Regions from separate parts of the Homo sapiens genome. Here region 2 is linked to region 1. The links are contacts of gene promoters, found by promoter capture Hi-C in human tissues and cell types (Jung and others, 2019). All regions are on one chromosome and are shown on one strand. The core of a region is centred on a gene start or on the middle of the fragment in contact, and the rest is flanking DNA. Distances in the headings are between cores, read along the strand shown. Region 1 holds the start of RABIF (RAB interacting factor). Region 2 has its middle 14 kb from the start of PTPN7.

Region 1 (3,479 bases), core at 292-2,791:
GGAAGTTATTTTCCTTAAAAGATGCCTACCAACTTTGGCAGATGGATTGTGCATGCTAATTAAACCAAAGCCTATAAAACGTGACTTTTCCTATCTCAGGAAGAGATCCAGGGGAGGGTGAAGGACTGATGGCTCCTATGCTGTCTTCAGTGCTGACTAATGAGTTTCAGACCAACTTCACAAATAGTTCATACACTGAAGCCACAATGGTATGTTCTACAGAAAAATCAACACGTAAAACAGCTCCTTTTTCACTCTTCACAATCGTACACACTTTCATGTGCTCACATACATACACAGAGATACCCCTAATTTGGTGGTTCATCTTATTTTTTTAAGCTCCCATAACTGGCAACCAGCTACTTAGTTATCTAACCTGGGAAAACCAGCAGTTGCTTTGTGTCACCCCCATCACAATACAGACATCCAGCTAGTTTCTAAGTTCTGTACAATTTTAATTGTTTCAAGTCCATTCCCATATCTTTGTTCCCTCTGCTAGCTTCAGGGCCTTTCTGAGCTAGACTGATGAGGTAATAGCTACCTGATACCTTACCTCTACTCTTTTTCCTCTCTTCAATCTAGCCCCTCTATTTATTCATAGGTTATCTTTCTGAAGCACAGATAGGATCATTACAGTGCTTAACATACAGCAGACAGTAAATATCGAACAGTTATTTCTGGCCTAAAATTCCACAGATTCCCATTGTTCATGTTATTAATGTTAAATTCCTTAGCATGACATTAAAGCCATGGAGCTCTGGGCCCACTCTGCCTTACCTACCTCTACTACCACTTCTCCCCACGTGTAATGTGGGTCAGCCACAGTGGTCTACTAACCATTCCTAAATTTGTTCTCACCCTTGTTCATATATAATACTGTTCTGTCTGAAATAATCTTGCTTTCCTGACAATCCTAGTTAATTAAGAGCAGTGGCTTTAGAGTTGTGCTGCAACCTTTCTGATCTTTACCTTTCTCATTTTGTGCACAAGCGTGCCGACCCCGTAAGGAAACTGATGATTTAGTAAGTTTCTAAAGGCGCTTTGACACATTTTGCCGCATAGTAAATGGTCACAATGAGTAGAAGAGACCAGCAATTAAAGTTTCCACGCATCTTTTTCCAATACCGAAAAGATACATGCCCCTCTAAGTAGTTTCCTATAGAAGAAGCTAATGTGGCTAAAACTTGATGGGAAGTCCGACCCAGATTCCCTTCATATTGCCCCCAATAATGTCCCCATTTATTCAGGAGACTAAATTCAGATCCCAGAAAACTAAACAGTAAGGTCAACCTAATGATTTGTCTAGGTTTTAAGTGAAGCCCAGTGGCCAGGTGGGTATGGAGATGTGTCACTGGTGCCAAGAAGTGTCCCTGTCACAAAGCCTGCCGACACCTAGCCACTTAGGTTAGGCAATGAATGAAGGCGCTTGCGCAGTAGAGTCCAGAGCGGGGAAGCGGGCGCCTGCGCAGAGACATAGTGACCGTCCGCTCGCCGCCCCGCCTCTGCCAAGCCGCGCCAGCGCAGTGAATAACGAGCCAGCAGAGACAGCGTCTGCGCAGCCGTGGCTGAGGAGCCTGTGGCGGCAGCGGCGATGGAACCAGCGGAGCAGCCGAGCGAGTTAGTGTCAGCCGAGGGCCGAAACCGGAAGGCGGTGCTGTGCCAGCGTTGCGGCTCCCGGGTGCTGCAGCCAGGGACCGCTCTCTTCTCTCGCCGACAGGTAGGGAGGCAGGTTGGAGGCCGTTTACACCCACAGTCTCCCCCGACGAGCCGCCGCAGTCAGAATCTGAACCCCGGCTCTTCAATTTCCGGCAACCGCGCCCTCCTCGCGCGGCCTTAAGCCCCGCCCCTCGGGCCTCAGCTCGGCGAGGCTCCGCCCCTGGGGCCGCTGAAGGCTAGGGAGGGAACCGGGTCCCGCCCCGGCATCTTTTGCCGCGGGAACCCTTCCCTGGGCCACCCGGCCCAGCCAGCCCGGCCCTCTGCCCCCGGGGGGGCTTCGAGCGCGGGCCGTGCGCCCCGCCGCCGTCCAAGGCCGGTGCTCCGCGGGCGCGTGGAAGGGAGGCGCCCCATTCCGGCTCTCGGAGCTCCCGCCAGCTTGCAGGACCCGGCAGGTGCCTCTCGGCCGCCGCTCACCGCGGGTGTTGCTGGGTTCCTTTCCCACTTTAGACCTCACCCGCCAGTCCTGAATTCACCGTCTCATTTATGACGGGCACCTATCTGCTCCACAGAGGATCCCCAGGAACAACTGGTGTTGGGGACGCGGCAAAATAACCCTGGTAACCTACCCACTTTACCGAGGCACTGGAAGCCTGTGGTTTTCCAGATGAATCATATTTCAAGTGCAGTAGATCCCTGACGTCCTGGAAGTAAATTTCGAAGAAAAACTTTTTTTTTCCCTTCAGTTTAGGGATTTTAATACCCTTCCTACCACCATCATCGCAAGTGAGAAAGTTGAAAAAAAAATTTATTTCGGTAAACTGTGTTGAAGTGCAAATATAATGTCATTTCAACCATAGACACATCCTATCATTCAAAATTATTTCTAAAAATATGCAGATCATTTTATTATTTCACGTGCTTGAACAGATGGTGAAGTGTAATGTCTAGTAGAAGAGCAAGAGGTACCCATTCGTCCAAAACAGCCTTTCATCAAAGGAGGAAAAAAGGGAATCTGTGTCTGTTGTTTTGTAGGTATTTTGATGACTTTTGATCTAGAGATTGGTGGAGGTCCCGGGGTTCTTTTAAGACTTCAAGGTTTAGGAGTAGAGTTCTCAATTAATTTTACGAAGTTAGTGGCATTATGGAGTCAGTGGAAAGAACATGGATCTTGGAATTGAAACATACATGGAATTGAGTCCTGACTATCATTCATTAACATTAAAACAGTTAGGCTGGGCGCGGTGGCTCATGCCTGTAATCCCAGCACTTTGGGAGGCCGAGGCGGGCGGAACACCTGAGGTCAGGAGTGTGAGACCAGCCTGGCCAACATGGCAAAACCCCATCTCTACTAAAAAAAAAAATACAAAAATTAGTTGGGGGTGGTGGCACAAGCCTGTAATCCCAGCTACTCGGGAGGCTGAGGCAGGAGAATCGCTTGAACCTGGGAAGCCGAGGTTGTAGTGAGCGGAGATTGAGTCACTGCACTCCAGTGTGGGCAACAGAACGAGACACCATCTCAAAAAAAAAAAAAAAAAGTTATTTAACCTCCATGAGATGCAGGTTGCTATTGTGTAAAACAGGGGTGTCCAGTCTTTTGGCTTCCCTGGGCCATATTGGAAGACTTGTCTTGGGCCACACAAAATACACTAATGATAGCTGATGAGCTTAAAAAAAAATTGCAAAAAAAAAAATTTTTCATAATGTTTTAAGAAAGTTTCCGAATTTGTGTTGGGCCGCATTCAAAGCCGTTCTGAGCCATATGCCGGCCGCGGGTTGGACAAGCTTGTAAAATGAAGATGATGATAGAGGGAAGAATTTGTATA
Region 2 (3,483 bases), core at 686-3,185, 710 kb after region 1:
ACCCTGTCTCTACTGAAAATACAAAAATTAGCTGGGCATGGTGGTGGGCACCTGTAATCCCAATTACTCAGGAGGCTGAGGCAGAAGAATTGCTTGAACCCGGAGGCAGAGGTTGCAGTGAGCCAAGATCGCGCCACTGCACTCCAGCCTGGGCAACAGAGTGACACTCCAGCTCAAAAAAAAAAAAAAAAAAAAAAGACCCTTATGTGCAGCCACGTGTGGTGGCTCATGCCTGTAATCCGAGCACTTTGGGAGGCTGAGGTGGGTGGATCACTTGAGGTCAGGAGTTCGAGACCAGCCTGGCCAACATGGCGAAACCCCAACTCTACTAAAAATACAAAAATTAGCCGCACGTGGTGGCAGGTGCCTGTAATTCTAGTTACTCCAGAGGCTGAGGCAGGAAAATGACTTGAACCTGGGAGGCAGAGGTTGCAGTGAGTTAAGATCATGCCACTGCACTCCAGCCTGGGAGACAGAGGGAGACTCTGTCTCAAAAAAAAAAAAAAAAAAAAAAAGGCCCTTATGTGGATGGACAGGCAGGTATCTGGGGGCCCAGGCAGCACCCCTCCACCCTCAGAGCTTGAACTCACTTGAACTCAGGAGCCACATGAGCCTGGCCCAAAAGTCAACACTTCTTTATAAATGGGGACACTGAGGCTCAAAGAGGGCCAAGGTTTGCTCTAGGGGCTGAGCCCCAGCTAGAACCCAGGTCTCCTGACTTCCAGGGTGACCTCCTTCCAGCTCCCTCCCAGCCTGTACTCCAGGCAAGATCCAGACAACAGTGACAGGGGCAGGAGGAGGCTGGGAGGGGAGGCCCAGGGTAGGGGTAGAAGGAGCCACCACATTGGAGAGGGATGCGCTCAGGGTGGGGAGGCCCATCTATCCCTCAGCTCCACCAAGGGCTCCGCAGGCAGAAAGAGCAGGAAGACTCAGGCCTCATGAGAGGGGCTTCCCAAACCAACTCTACAGGCCCCCAGGGCTTCCGGGTAGGAGAAAACCTCACTGTGTGTCCTGCACTTGAGTAAAGGCAAGGAGCATGGAGCTGGTCACACTGCCTGCTTCAATCCCAACTCCCCACTGTGCTGAGGAACCTGGCGCAAGTTATTTTCTGTCTCTCTGCCTCAGTCTCCTCATCTGTGAAACAGAGAAAACCATAGTAACTACGTCCTAGGCTTGGTGTTATGAGACTTAATGAGAGCACACAGGTAGAAGACCTGGCTGAGTGCCCAGTAAACGCTAGCTATTGCTGTTATGATTTTTTTTTCTTTGAGAGGGGGTCTCACTCTGTCACCCAGGCTGGAGTGCAATGGTGCAATCTCAGCTCTGCAACCTCTACCTCAAGCTAATTTTTGTATTTTTAGTAGAGATGGGGTTTCACCATGTTGGCCAGGCTAGTCTCAAACTCCTGATCTCAAGTGATCCACCCGCCTCTGCCTTCCAAAGTGCTGGGATTACAGGCGTGAGCCACTGCGCCCAGCCTTGCTATTGTTATGATTAACCACTTGTGGCCCACTACCACCCACCTCCCTACTGCCAGCCATGAGAGAGCATGAGGAATATCATGCCCAGTGCCGCCGTACAAGTGAGCAAACGCCTTCTAAGAAGGATCTGCCCACCTTCTAGAAGGCCTAAAGGGCCAGGGCCCTGGGGGAGTCCCAGTGAGGGGAGTGGGGTTACCTAGTGCCTAGGGACCGAGGGAACAACCCTAAGCTGATACATGCCCCACCATCAGCCCAGCTGCCTGCCTGAAGACCACAGAGGCCAAGGGGACATGCAGCCCCCTGGGAATCCAAGGAGCAAGGTAGGGGAGGGCCATCAGAAGGCACTCATGTGTCCAGCCTGTGGCGTTGGTGCTGCTGCTCTGATCCAGCCCCCGCAGGGTGGTCAGCTGCACCAGGAACTCAGTGCCCGGTGACAGCTAGGCCCAGGAGAAGTTCTGGACCTCTGCGGCCAGAGTGTCCGCCCTTTCCAGAGTCAGAGGCCTCAGGCTATAAAGCTGCACCTGGAAGCCATCCCTCCCCCACTGGTGGGGGACTCCAGGAAGCCTTCAGGGCAGGAGGCTGGGTGGCAAGGTTCAGGCTCAAGTTGGCAGGAGGAGCAGGGACTGGGGGAAGGACAAGGAAGAAACAGATGTGGAGTCACCTGAATTCCCTGCCTCTCCTCCCCATGAGCTACACCCATCTCCTCAGTCTCCAGGCAAGCTCCCAGCCCTCCCCACCTAAAACCCCCACTTCCACAGGGCTCAAAGGCCACCCTCCTTTCCTTCCCAGGAAACCCTCTTAAACAGATGCTTGCCCAGACACCTGCTGCCCCGCTTCCTCCCTGACTGTCCGCCCCTTGAGGGCATGGCGCCAACCCTGTCACACCTCTTAGGGCCCCGGTCTCCAGCTCACCTGCTGACGTTCAGTTCCCGTCCAGTCTGTCTCTGGCCTGAGGACCTTGGTGCACACTTAGCCTCCTGCTAAGGTCCTCTCCACCCATCCTCCCCAGCCCCAGCAGATGACCCTGGGCAGGACCCCACCCTGCCCCCCACCAGCCTGCTCTCACTCAGCTCACTCTTCTCCGGGAAACCTCCTCTGACTTTTTAAGCAGGTGTCCCTTCTGTGAGTCCTAGAAGATTAGACTGAACCACATAAAATTCCTGAGATTCAGCCATTTTAACCAATAGGAATGGAGTTTCATATGGTTCAAGCTAATACATTATGCACATTCCAATTAGTGCATTAACAGGTATTATGATATATAAAATCATATATACACACACACACACACACACACACACACATATGCCATCTGTTTACTTGTCTTCCTGAGGCACTGAGGACTATTCATCATTTTTGGCCTCAGCAACTGGTTTCATGCCAAGAAAATGGGAGTCATTCATTAAATAATTGTGGGATGGATGGATGGATGGTGGATGGATAGATGGATGGATGGACAGTGGATAGATGGTGGGTATATAGCTAACCAGATGGAAGGAGGTAGAAATTGCTTGCAAATAGATTCATGAAAGGCCTCATCTTGTACTCATGGCCTTCTGAGTCAAGAATATGGCACACAAGGCCGGGCACGATGGCTCACGCCTGTAATCCCAGCACTTTGGGAGGCTGAAGTGGGCAGATCATGAGGTCAGGAATTCGAGACCAGCTTGGCCAACATGGTGAAACCCCATCTCTACTAAAAATACAAAAATTAGCCATGTGTGGTAGCAGGCACCTGTAACCCCAGCTACTCGGGAGGCTGAGGCAGGAGAATTGCTTGAACCTTGGAGGCGGAGGTTGCAATGAGCTGAGATCATGCCACTGCACTCCAGCCTGGGTGATAGAGCAACTCCGTCTTGGAAAAAAAAAAAAAAAAAAAAAAAAAAATATATATATATATATATATATATGGCACACAGTCCAGCCACAGTGGCTCATGCCTGTAATCCCAGCACTTTGGGAGGCCGAGGTGAACAGACTGTTTGAGGTCAGAAGTTCAAGA

Evidence for each region. The method cuts DNA at HindIII sites, captures the fragments that hold promoters and counts their contacts. A contact is called where the count stands out against the background at its distance.
Region 2: a fragment that was not itself captured here is called in contact with the fragment with the promoter of RABIF in region 1 in 1 of the 25 tissues and cell types used here (spleen).

What each region holds. Positions count from the first base shown.
Region 1 is chr1:202,887,211-202,890,689 of GRCh38, reverse strand. RABIF (RAB interacting factor) reads left to right here and starts at 1,541. Exons shown (of 2, transcript NM_002871.5): 1 at 1,541-1,717. The coding sequence starts at 1,592. RefSeq lists an enhancer at 1,506-1,775 and a silencer at 1,846-2,135. The HindIII fragment of the contact is 13,847 bases long and covers 1-3,479 here.
Region 2 is chr1:202,173,093-202,176,575 of GRCh38, reverse strand. It overlaps the pseudogene PTPRVP. Among named protein-coding and RNA genes, the nearest start is that of PTPN7, 14 kb to the right of the region's middle. The HindIII fragment of the contact is 7,981 bases long and covers 1-3,483 here.